Regions from separate parts of the Homo sapiens genome. Here regions 2 and 3 are each linked to region 1. The links are contacts of gene promoters, found by promoter capture Hi-C in blood cells and fetal thymus (Javierre and others, 2016). All regions are on one chromosome and are shown on one strand. The core of a region is centred on a gene start or on the middle of the fragment in contact, and the rest is flanking DNA. Distances in the headings are between cores, read along the strand shown. Region 1 holds the start of MICOS10-DT (MICOS10 divergent transcript). Region 2 overlaps EMC1 (ER membrane protein complex subunit 1). Region 3 has its middle 11 kb from the start of MRTO4.

Evidence for each region. The method cuts DNA at HindIII sites, captures the fragments that hold promoters and counts their contacts. A CHiCAGO score of 5 or more calls a contact.
Region 2: a fragment that was not itself captured here is called in contact with the fragment with the promoter of MICOS10-DT in region 1 in 2 of 17 cell types (naive CD8 T cells and naive B cells); the score reaches 6.2 in naive CD8 T cells.
Region 3: a contact is called between a fragment that was not itself captured here and the fragment with the promoter of MICOS10-DT in region 1, in 1 of 17 cell types (naive B cells). The highest score is 5.5, in naive B cells.

The regions. Positions count from the first base shown.
Region 1 is chr1:19,594,696-19,598,847 of GRCh38, reverse strand. It overlaps MICOS10-DT (MICOS10 divergent transcript), which reads left to right and starts at 2,016. Exons shown (of 2, transcript NR_135054.1): 1 at 2,016-2,138. It overlaps MICOS10-NBL1 (MICOS10-NBL1 readthrough), which reads right to left and starts at 1,869. Exons shown (of 4, transcript NM_001204089.2): 1 at 1,739-1,869. It overlaps MICOS10 (mitochondrial contact site and cristae organizing system subunit 10), which reads right to left and starts at 1,869. Exons shown (of 4, transcript NM_001032363.4): 1 at 1,739-1,869. The coding sequence starts at 1,802. RefSeq lists a silencer at 1,447-1,656 and an enhancer at 1,777-2,076. The HindIII fragment of the contact is 2,967 bases long and covers 1-2,481 here.
Region 2 is chr1:19,235,461-19,239,612 of GRCh38, reverse strand. EMC1 (ER membrane protein complex subunit 1) reads left to right here. Exons shown (of 23, transcript NM_015047.3): 9 at 311-382; 10 at 756-818; 11 at 1,474-1,596; 12 at 2,375-2,471. The region is part of intron 1 of EMC1-AS1 (EMC1 antisense RNA 1); the gene reads right to left. Among named protein-coding and RNA genes, the nearest start is that of EMC1, 14 kb to the left of the region's middle. RefSeq lists a silencer at 3,734-3,904. The HindIII fragment of the contact is 1,117 bases long and covers 692-1,808 here.
Region 3 is chr1:19,261,223-19,265,374 of GRCh38, reverse strand. No RefSeq gene overlaps it. Among named protein-coding and RNA genes, the nearest start is that of MRTO4, 11 kb to the right of the region's middle. The HindIII fragment of the contact is 865 bases long and covers 1,367-2,231 here.

The sequences.
Region 1 (4,152 bases), core at 767-3,266:
TGTATACATAAAGCACCAGGCACTGTGCTAAGTAGCTTATGTATTTTTCTGTCCTTTACTTTTTTTAATACTTTCAGGTAAATCTCTTTTGATCACCATTTCGTAGTTGAGAAAGAGACTTTACCCAAAGCTACAAAATTAGTAAGGATGGGCGAGAAGAGTGAGAGTGGATGATTCGAACTCAGCTCTGTCTACCTCCAAAGCCCCTTCTTCTTCTTCTCCTTTTTTTTTTTTTTAAGGGAAGGGTCTCACTTTGTTTCCCAGGCTGGTCTCCAACTCCTGATCTCAGGCGATCCTCCCGCCTCGGCCTCCCAAAGTGCTGGGATTACAGGCCTGAGCCACTTCGCCCAGCTCAAAGCCCTTTCTTAACTATATGACATTGCCTAGTAACTACTTTGGTCATTTCATAGCTAGGTGTTAAGTCTTCTCTCTGAACTGCAAGCTGTTAACAGTAACAAAACAAAAGTGACTGTTTAGTCGCTTCCAAAATAACCCATTCCTAAGTGATCCATATTCAAGCCTTTAAACAAACTAACTCATTTAATCCTCCCAACGACTCCATGAGATAGTAATAATTATTACTGCCGATTTCCAAATAGGAATCAGGCACAGAAAAGTTAAATAACTTGCCCCAAATCACTTGACTGTAAGTGCTGAATTCAGAGGTGAAATGGTAACTTATAAACTGTTTCATTTATTGACTCACTCTCAACAATTTTTATTAAGCACTCTTTTAGGGGCTGGGGATGGGGCAGTGACTAAACCAGAAAACATCCCTGCTCTCATGGAGCTTACAATCTTATTCCTCAATGTTTTCATTCAAAGACACAATCCTAAATCCTCTTAAATACCCTAAGATTACCACACAAAAATATCACATTTGGGTAACAAAAATTAGCATCGAAGAAGGAACATGGGACTTGACCCCAGAAAAGCTGGGTAAAATCCCTAATTTTGCCATTTGTTAGCTGTGACCGTGGGCAAATTCCTTCACCTGACTCTCCATTTCACGGCCTGTAAAAAGATTATTTCGCACAATGAAGACAATATACGCTCAATAAACGAGTTTCCTTTCTCCTCCCCACCATACAGTGACTTCATAATTTGTGCCGTCACTGAGCACGTGTTAAAGGACTACGCAGAAAAACTTAACGTGAACAACTTCTTACTTTCCAGCGCAATTCTCATTCCAGATCATCACCCCTCTAAGTTCAGGCCCCAGACTACTCTGATTCAAATAAATCAGGTGGCAAGTCGGGAATGACAGCAACTCGCATCAGGGCCTGGCGGTGTCTATGAAATGCTCCAGGTGACCTTCTCCAGAAGGCACTTTGGTTTCCGCCGGGGAGCAGCGTGGCCTCCTGAGCCGGTTCCCCGCCGCGTGCCGGGGAATGCACCACCCGGGAGGAGAACCCCGCGGCTCCGGCACGAGGGTGTGCCCCGACACTGTCTTCCACTCAAGAGCTCTGCGACTCTCCTGCCACCTGCCAACCCCGACCACCTCCTCCGGGCTGCAACTCCACCCCGCACCCGGGCTGCTGCTCCGGCTCCTCGGGTCTGTGCCCGCCGCCCGAGTGACCTCCCGCCGGGGCCCGGGCGGCTCGCCCTGGCCGGAGGGGCCGGAAAAGGCCGAGAGGCCTGACCTCCCGTGGGGCTTCCCTTCCTTCCTCCTGGGCAGCGCAGCCTGGAGCCAGCAGCTCTGCACCGGCCGGGCCTGCTGGGGCGAAAAGCCCCTTACCTATCTTCACGACCGCATCCGCCAGACACCGGTCCCACTTCCTGCCGAGCTCCGACTCAGACATGTTCCCCACCCGCGCCTCCAGCTTTCCTCTCGGCCGGCCCCCGCGCTCCGACCCCTGAAAGTCTCGCGAGAGCTGGAAACAAGTCCCAGGTCAGGAAGGCAGGCGCAGACGCTCCAGATATCGCGAGATGATCCGCTGCTTCCATCCCTTCCGGTTTTTTCAGTTGGTCGTCAAGGTGACGAGTTGTCTGGAGGCTCGAGGTGACCCTGACCTTGGGGCTGCGCCTATGGGTTTGCGAGGCTGACAGTTTCCTAGGCGTCACCCCAAGCCGTGACCAGGCCTTTCCTCCTCACCAAAGTGCGACATTGGCCCTGGAAATCCCCCGGGCAAGAGAGGGTACAGACTTGATTTATTCATTCATTAACGTACTCACCTTCACTTTCCCTACTCACTCTCTCATTCGTTCACTGGTTTCTTGCATTGGAATTCCCGCCTGAACCACTAACACCGAAACTGCTCTGGGAAAGATTACCTACCGCCAAATCAAATGGACTCTTTTCTGACCTCTGTACCGCATTCCACACAATTTTCCCTCCCTCTGATCCTCCCTGGCTCCTCTATTCGTTTCACTCCCGGTAACGCCACTCTTTCCTCTTCTCCCCATCTGCTGTTGTCTGTTGGTTTCCTCCAGGGCTGCCTTTTCTCTGCCAGCTGTTTAAGGACTGTTGGTTCGCAAGCTTCCATCAATTCTCTTTTCACTGTACAGACTCTCCCTGAGTAATTGCAAACACTGCCAAATTATATCTCCAGGTAAAACGTCTACCTCAGGCCTCCTATCCATGTATATATTTACACACCCACCCACACACACACACACATACACATACATACACAGGGTGCCCTCTGTATCTGTGGGTTTTGCATCCATGGATTTAACCAACCATGGACCAGAAACATTTTTGAATCAAATAAAAAATAATGCAAAATTTAAAATACAGTACAACTATTTACCTAGGATTTACATTGTATTAGGTATTATAAGTAACCTAGAGATGATTTAAAGTATATGGGAGCCAGCGCAGTGGCATGCGACCGTAGTCCCAGCTACTTGGGAGGCTGAGATGGGAGGATTGCTTGAGACTAGGAGTTCGACTTCATCTCTTTAAAAAAAAATAAGTAATTTTAAAAAAGGATATGTAAGCATGTGTGTAGGTTGTATGCAAATACCACGCCATTTTATATATGGGACTTGAGCATCCTGCATTTTGGTAACTGCGAGATCCTGAAACCAAATGCCCACAGCTATCAAGAGAGATTGTATATCCAGCCTACTGGCTAGTGTCATTGATTTTAGTCTTCCATCCTACCAACAAATAGAAATCTGACCACGTTATGCCTCTGATTAGAAGCTGTCAATGAAGGCCGAGAGCAGTGGCTCACACCTGTAATCCCAACACTCTGGGAGGCTGAGGCGGGAGGATTGTTTGAGGCCAGTAGTTCAAGACCAGCCTAGGCAGCATAGTGAGACTCCTGTCTCTACAAAAAATTTAAAAAATTAGCCAGGCTAATGTGATGTGTGCCTTTAGTCCCAGCTACTTAGGAGGCTGAGGTAGGAGGATCACTTGAGCCTGGGAAGTGGAGGCTACACTGAGCCATGTTCATGCCACTGCACTCCAGCCTGGGCATCAGAGTGATACCCTATCACAAAAGAAAAAAAAAAAAAGCTGTCAATGACTCCCATTCATACACTGGATCTATCCAAGCTTCAACACTGCACTGATTCTAGGAAGCCTAGTCAGATAGAGCTTAGAGCTGCCTTCCCCTTCTCATTGTCCCACTACCCTGCCTACCCGCATTGATTTCTCTATCTAGTACTGAAACATCTGGTTGTAGATATTATCTGCTAGTAGAACTAGAAGTTGCCCCTTCGTCTTCATACTTCCAGTCAGAGCACAATGCCTTGGATAGTAGGGTCTTCTATGAAATATTTGTTGAACTGAATTGAATTTATTCACCTATTTATTTGTTTATTTATTTATTGAGAGAGAGTCGCGCTCTGTTGCCCAGGCTGGAGTGCAGTGGCACGATCTCGGCTCACTGCAACCTCTGCCTACTGGGTTTGAGCAATTCTTCTGCCTCAGCCTCCAAAATAGCTGGGATTACAGGCGCCCACCACCACGCCTGGCTAACTTTTTGTATTTTTTTAGTAGAGATGGGGTTTCGCCATATTGGCCAGGCTGGTCTTGACTCCTGGCCTCAAGTGATCCACCCACCTTGGCCTCCCAAAGTGCTGGGATTACAGGCATCGTTCAACTATTTATTTGCAACTATGACAGCAAAACTCTGTTGTATCAGATCTTGCTACGACAGCCTCTTCCTTCAAGATAACTTCTATGACCACCCTTCCCTT
Region 2 (4,152 bases), core at 1-2,500, 360 kb after region 1:
AAAACTAGTGCCTTCCTTAGTCCAAAGGAAATATGGGGACATAAATGAGAGCTTCCCCATAGATAGTAAGAACAAGCAGCATGGGATTTAAGATTGACCTGTGCCTGCGTTGGAGGTAGGGAGAGTTCTGTTTTCAGCTGTAGATGCAACTGAGGCCTCCCTCTGCTCTTAAATGCCTGACCATTCTGCTCCAAAGTGGGGAGCACTTTCAACTCTAAGGCCAAGGGCCTTCCCTGGAGAGGTGACCCTCTGTAAGGCAGCTGGCTAGTACTGGTCCCATTTAGGAGCTGATGCCTTGCTTTTCCCCCAGACTGCCCTAGTGAGCTTTGCCACCACTGGGGAGAAGACGGTGGCTGCAGTCATGGCCTGTCGGAATGAAGTGGTGAGTATTGAGAACAACAGTCAGCACTTGGGATTTTCCTTCCTGGTCTCCACTAGGAACCCTGAAAATCAGAAGTCTGGGCACATTGACCTGGTCAGTTTGAACCCAGCGGGCAGGAGGCTGTTGAGAAGTGAGGTCTTGCCTCAACTATAGAGCTTTCTGCACACCCCATTTCTCCCCAGGAACGAGACCCTAATGTGATGACCTTACTTTCATATGGGGCTATTAAGGGTTGAATAGGCTTTGTGGGCAGGGGTGAGAAATGAGCTTTGTCTTCTCTCAAGTGCTAAGAAGACAAAAACAAAAGCTTCATTTCAGTGACTGGGAAGTGACCCTTTGGCTGAATTTTCTCCTGTCCTTCTCTTTCTCATAGCAGAAAAGTAGCAGTTCTGAAGATGGGTCAATGGGGAGCTTTTCGGAGAAGTCTAGTTCAAAGGTATGGTGTGGCACTGGGCAGTATGCCAGACCTAGAGACGCAGGAGGCCACCAAAGAGAGTTGGGGGAAGAGCTTTGGTTAGGAGCAGGTCCTAGAGTTCCCAGCTTCAAATGAGGTTTCCTAAGTACTGTAAATTAAATGATGTTTCTCTTAATCTCATTTTACCGGGAGATTAGGAGGTAGAATCCCTAGAGTCTGTTTCTAGCCACTTTCTCCTCTGGGCCTCAGCGTCCCCATTTCTTTTGGGATCCTGGCTGGCACAGTTGAGTAGTACTCTGTGCAGTTACCCTGTAGCAGAGGCATGAGCCCCTGGCTGGAGGCATAGGTTCCTGCTGTGGCTTCCATCTAAGCGTTTCCCTGCCTCCTGTCTTGCTCAGTCTTACCTTGCTCAGCCCTACCTCTCTCTCAGAAGTCTCTGCTACTCTGTACTGGCTTCCAAGACAAGTATGGTAGTTGTAATTTCATTTATTTACTCAGGCACCTTATTTCTGCCTTAGGATTTAGCTTGCTTTTCTCTTTTATTCTCCTTTGCATATATTTCCCCTTCTGGCCTGGCTCCTTCTCTAGGGTATTTGCCCCCAATCCTTGGACTTCCTTTGGTGGGCTTTGCTTTCGGGGGATACCTGTAGTTGACACGTGCTGTCTGTACTCCTAGGACTCTCTGGCTTGCTTCAATCAGACCTACACCATTAACCTATACCTCGTGGAGACAGGTCGGCGGCTGCTGGACACCACGATAACATTTAGCCTGGAACAGAGCGGCACTCGGCCTGAGCGGGTAAGGCAGAGCCTTTCTTTGCAGACTGTCCTGTGGGCTTCTCAGCACATGGCTTCCTTTCCTCAGGGCCAGGTCTTAGCCATGGGGCTTGGATTAGGCTCTCTAAACATGTGTTCTAGTGCTCTCTGAGCCACTGACTTGTTAGAAGTCACAGTAAAGGCGGGTATTATTTATGCCAGCTCATCATTGTGCACCAGGGACTGTTCTAAGCTTTTAACTTACACATTAATTGATTTAACCCTCCAAACACTCTCATGAAGCGGTTGTTCCTGACCTGGTTTTAAAATGATTCTGTGGCCTGGTGGGATCGAGTACCATAGCCAGAGTCACGGAGCCAGTAAGAGGTGTCACTGCGGTTCAGATTCAGGTCTAACCCCACAGCCTGGACTCCTCATCACTACCCAGTATTGCCTCTGTGTGCATCTGGTTGTGTTCCTCAGCTGCTTGGGCTGTGGCTTCTTCGTTTCTAAAGCGGAAAGTCTAATCCCGGCCTCCTGCTCACTTTGTGGGGTGTGATTAGAGCATGGATGAATGGCGTGGTACCCGTGGAGTACTCAGGTTCTTCCATGGAAAGGTCTGGGAGACCCCAGCATCATTATGTTGGCTCCTAAGAATATGTATCACTTACTGGCATCCAGATAATAGCTACATTGTTTAGACATCAAATAATGCCATGGCCTGTACCTCTGTTAAGTCCAGGCTTTGACTCCTGGGGTCTGGTGCTCTCAGAGGCATTTGGATCCTCACTGACTACACCGGTCTTGACTGTGGCTTATAGCTGTATATCCAGGTGTTCTTGAAGAAGGATGACTCAGTGGGCTACCGGGCTTTGGTGCAGACAGAGGATCATCTGCTACTTTTCCTGCAGCAGTTGGGTAAGTAGACCTCATTCAACCCATTTTTTTATTTCCCCAGGCCTTCCAATGTGTTCCAATCAGACTGTTTTTTGGGAGGCTGCAGGTTTCTGGAAGAGATTCAAGTGGAGTGTGCCCTGAGTGTTTCGTTCATAGCCAAATGTCACCTGCTTTTTTTTTTTTTTTTTTTTTTTTGAGATAGAGTCTTGCTCTCTTGCCCAGGCTGGAGTGCAGTGGCATGATCTCGGCCCACTGCAATCTCCACCTTTCGGATTCAAGCGATTCTCCTGCCTCAGCCTCCTGAGTAGCTGGGATTACAGGCGTGTGCCACCACGACCAGCTAATTTTTGTATTTTCAGTAGAGACAGGGTTTCCCCATGTTGGCCAGGCTGGTCTCGAATTCCTGACCTCAAGTGATCCGCCTGCCTCGGCCTCCCAAAGTGCTGGGATTACAGGTGTGAGCCACCGTGCCTGGCCTGTCACCTGCTTTTTTTTTTTTTTTTGAGACGGAGTTTTGCTCTTGTTGCTCAGACTGCTGGAGTACAGTGGCATGATCTCAGCTCACTGCAACCTCTGCCTCCCAGGTTTAAGTGATTCTCCTGCCTCAGCCTCCCAAGTAGCTGGGATTACAGGCATGCACCACCACGCCTGGCTAATTTTGTATTTTTAGTAGAGATGGGGTTTCACCATGTTTGTCAGGCTGGTCTCAAACTCCTGACCTCAGGTGATCCACCTGCCTCGGCCTCCCAAAGTGCTGGGATTACAGGTGTGAGCCACCGTGCCTGGCTCTTTTTTTCTTTTTTGAGACAGAGTTTTGCTCTTGTTGCCCAGGCTGGAGTGGAATGGTGTAATCTCAGCTCTTTGCAACTTCTGCCTCCTGGTTCAAGCGATTCTCCTGCCTCAGCCTCCTGAGTAGCTGGGATTATAGGCGCTAATTTTGTATTTTTAGTAAGAGACAGGGTTTCACCATGTTGGCCCAGGCTGGTCTCAAGCTCCTAACCTCAGGTGATCTGCCCGCCTTGGCCTCCCAAAGTGCTGGGATTACAGGCATGAGCCACTATGCCCGGCCCCGTTACCTGCTTTTGAAGAATAACTTGGCATTCTCGGTGGGATACAGAACTTTCCTCCTTTGACCTATTGATTCCAGCCCCTTGCTCTGCCATTTCTCCTTTTATGCAAGAGCTTGTAGTAATCCCTGAGTCAGCGAGAAGAGTCTCTCTAGAAAATCTGGGAGACAGGCTTAGCTTTTGTTTATTTATTTATTTATTTTTTGAGACAAGGTCTCACTGTTGCCCAGTCTGGAGTACAGTGGCGTGATCATAGCTCACTGCAGCCTCAATCTCCCGGGCTCAAGTGATCTTCCTATCTCAGCCTCCTAAGTAGCTGTGACTACAGGCGCTCGCCACCATGCTTGGCTAATTTTTTGATATTTATTTATTTTTATTTTATTTTATTTTATTTCAAGACGGAGTCTCGCTGTGTCGCCCAGGCTGGAGTGCAATGGCACAATCTCGGCTCACTGCAACCTCCACCTCCCGGGTTCACGCCATTCTCCTGCCTCAGCCTCCCGAGTAGCTGGAACTACAGGCGCCCACCATCATGCCTGGCTAATTTTTTGTATTTTTAGTAGAGAGGGGTTTCACCATGTTAGCCAGGATGGTCTCGATCTCCTGACCTCGTGATCTGCCCGCCTTGGCCTCCC
Region 3 (4,152 bases), core at 550-3,049, 330 kb after region 1:
GCATTCTCTGCTATGCCACATCCCACCTATTAGAATCTTCTGGATACTATATCTCAAAGATAGTTGATGTCCACTTGAATTCAGCCATTTCATATCTTTTTTCTCTTCTTTTTTTCCCACTCCACCTCCTCCCTCAGCCATTTTATATCTAAAGAGCTTCTTCAAGAGACAGTTCCCAAACAGCACCTTAAATATATATACAATTCGTATTTGTTAATTTAAAAACAAATGAGAAGGAACAAAAAGACCTAAAGGAGCAGAGCTGGATCTGGAGAGCGTCTAATATATATTTATTCATCCTCAAACTAAGGAAACTGCTCTGTGCTGTATAAAAGACTGGAGAAGGGCCAGGCGCAGTGGCTCACGCCTGTAATCCCAGCACTTTGGGAGGCCGAGGCGGGCGGATTATGGGGTCAGGAGATCAAGACCATCCTAGTTAACATGGTGAAACCCCGTCTCTACTAAAAATACAAAAAATTAGCCGGGCATGGTGGTGGGCGCCTGTAGTTCCAGCTACCCGGGAGGCTGACGCGGGAGGATGGCGTAAATCCGGGAGGTGGAGCTTGCAGTGAGCTGAGATCATGCCACTGCACTCCAGCCTGGGCGACAGAGCAAGACTCCATCTCAAAAAAGAAAAAAAAAAAAAAAAAAGACTGGAGAAGGAGGTGACATAGATTTTGCACATGGGAATTCATGAGGAGGGGAGTTCCTGAAACTTCAGGCTGCCATGGGCTGCCCTACTTGCTTCATTTCTGACCTGCTTGTTCCCAGTGACTGGGTTGGTTGGCATCACCAGTGTCTCAAATTGGGCCATTCTGAATACATTTCAGAAGCAACAGGAAGGTAAGAGTGCCAGGCTCCACAATTGTTTATGAACAAGTACATTTCTGCTGCATGGATTTTTAATTTAATAAGGCTGTTTTTACCATGGCTTTTTTTTTTTTTTTTTTTTTTGAGATGGAGTCTAGCTCTGTTGCCCAGGCTGGAGTGCAGTGGTGCAATCTTGGCTCACTGCAACCTCTGCCTCCCGGGTTCAAGCAATTCTCTGCCTCAGCCTCCCGAGTAGCTGGGACTACAGGCGCCTGCCACCACACCTGGCTCATTTTTTATATTTTTAGTAGAGACGGGGTTTCACCATCTTGGCCAGCCTGGTCTTGAACTCCTGACCTCGTGATCCACCCGCCTCGGCCTCCCAAAGTGCTGGGATTGCAGGCGTGAGCCACCGTCCTTACCATGGCATTTGTAAGTGTATGTCCACTGCAGAAACAAATTTCTATTCTCAATGTTGAGCTTTATTAACTGAATTTGAAATAGCATTCACAACAGTTAGATGCTTTCTCTCTCACAAAATGGATTTCCAAAAGCTTTACTCTGATTCCAAGAGTTGGATGGAAGACAGTTTATATATACAAGCTGGAAGCCACCACACCCAGTCTATTTCTTAAAATTTGGACAATTTATTAAAGTGATATGTGCCCATGGTTAAAAGCTGTCACTTTCCAAGTCTCATTCCTCAGAGGCAACTTCTAGAAATTCTTGCAGCTTTCTTTTTCTCTAGCAGTTACTGCTGCACTATGTCTAAAGTATACACTTGGCTGGGGGTGGTGGTTCACACCTATAATCCCAACACTTTGGGAGACAAAGGTGAATCGCTTGAGCCCAGGAGTTTGAGACCAGCCTGGGCAGGTCAGTGAGACTGTCTCTACAAAAAAATTTTAAAAACTAGCCAGGCATGGTGTCATAGGCCTGTAGTTCCAGCCTTAGGAGGCCAAGATAGGAGGATTGCTTGAGCTTAGGAGTTTGGCCTGGATATTAAAGCAAGACCACCATCTCTTATTAAAAAAAAAGCTACACACTTTATCGCTATTCCTTAATATATCAAATTTAGATGTCGTGTGTGGGCTGCTGGAAAGTTCCTGATCTTAGATTTACCAAATCCACACCTGCAAGGTTAATATTTGTGCACAATGTGATTTATTACTTCTTTTTGTTTTCTCCCCCTGGGAGGAAGGCAGAAACAAGCCAAGCTCCATGGAAGTGGTGCCAGTGCTAGTTTTGTTGAAATGGCCAAGGACTTAGGCAGCAGTGTCCAACATTTGGGTTCACCTTGTGTGCACTGCTGTGATTTACAGCCTTATTTGGATGATAAGGATGATCAGAAACCCCAAGGGTTTCTAATAATCCTTGCCATGTTCAGGAACCACCGTCCTAAGCGGAGGTTTTCTCAAGCTTTTCACACTGCAGGGCCCAGGCTACAGCCCTGGAGCATCGAGACCTGCTGGGTTTCATCCCATCTGTTCTTTACAGTGTGCAAAGCTGGCCAGGCCCCTTACTACCTTTATACTTGGCATTTAGCACATGGGGCTGGCATGGGGCATTTCCCTTCCTCACTGAGCAGGTGAGGGCAGGTGGCTCAGCCAAGGCCGCAGAGCCAGGATTGGAGATCAGGACTTGTCATGGGTCCTTGTGTCCCCCAGGGCACACAGGTGTGGTGCTGTAGGTGCTGAGGGGTCCTAAGGTGGCGGGTGTTTAACACCTGGTGAGGTTAAATGCTAGGGTTTTTTCTTCGAAATGGGGTCTCACTCTGTTGTTCAGGATGGAGTGCAGGGGCTCGATCACCACTCCCTGTAGCCTCTACCTCCCAGACTCAAGTGATCTTCCTGCTTCAGCCTCCAGAGCAGCTGAGACTAGAGGCGCACATCACTACGCCCGGCTAATTTTTTTTTTTTTTTTTTGTAGAGACAGGAGGTCTCCCTACGTTATCTTGGCTGACTTCTAACTTCCGGCATCAAGCAATCCTCCCTTCTTGGCCTCCCAAAGGGCTTGGATTACAGGTGTGGCCATCACGCCTGGCCAAATGCAAGGATTCTCGCCCACTGCCTCCCCTCTAGCCACCCAAGAACACGGATGAGGGGCCCAGAAACATGCATGCATTCTGATGCTCAAAAATGTAAGATGTCTACTTAGAAGCCATTAGCCCCTCAGTGCTTCAGGGACCTGGGTGCAGGCAACCGCCCTGAGATGACCCCTAGTACTGACCCCCGTGCAATACCCTCCCCCAACCCAGCTTCTGGAACAAGCACCACTTCAAGGCCATGGCCCTGGTGGAGCAGGTCCTGCAGATTGTGTATATAGCACCAGTGCCCCTGGCATGGCCTTGACTGTCCTGCGATGGACCACTCGCAAGCTGCAGGTAACCCAGCTGTCTCTAGATGCTCAGCTGCTTCTCTCAAATTCTGTGGGGGTGGGGAGACTGGGGAAGCTGCGAGGGCTATGCAGTCATTTGGTCACTTTGACCAAGAGGAGTTAAGTCCTTTTCTTCCTATGAAGGCTCTCCATGGCCCAGTTCTTTTGGGTGGGGTAAACCTGTTCTTACACAAATTACTTAAGCGGCCAGGTAACCAACACTAGTTATTGCGATGGCCATGTTAAGTATGGTCATCTCAGTTTTACATGAGGCAACTGGCTCAGAGGCAATTTCACTTGTGTAGGGTCCCACAGCTACACATGGTAGGGAACGAACGTGGGTTTGACTGAAACTAATGTTTTTCTTTTTGGGGGGACAAGGTCTTCCTCTTGTCACCCAGGCTGGAGTGCAGTGGCTTGATCATGGTTCACTGCAGCCTTGACCTCCAGGGCTCAGGCAATGCTCCGCTTCAGTCTCCCATGTAGCTGGGACCACAGGCATACACCACCATGTGACTAACTTCTGTATTTTTTGTAGAGACAGGGGTCTCACTACATTGCCTGGGCTGATCTTTTTTTTTTTTTTGAGACAGAGTCTAGCTCTGTCACCCAGGCTGAGTGTAGTGCTGTGATCTCGGCTCACTGCAAGCTCCGCCTCCCAGGTTCAAGCCATTCTCCTGCCTCAGCCTCCCGAGTAGCTGGGACTACAGGCGCCCGTCACCATGCCCAGCTAATTTTTTGTATTTTTAGTAGAGACGGGGTTTCACCGTGTTAGCCAGGATGGTCTCCATCTCCTGACCTCGTAATCCGCCTGCCTCGGCCTCCCAAAGGGCTGGGATTACAGGCATGAGCCACCGTGCCCGGCCTGAGCCTGGGCTGATCTTGAGTCTTTGGGCTCAAGCAATCCGCCCACCTCAGCATTCCAAATTGCTAGGATTACAGGTGCAAGCCACTGCATCTGGTCTG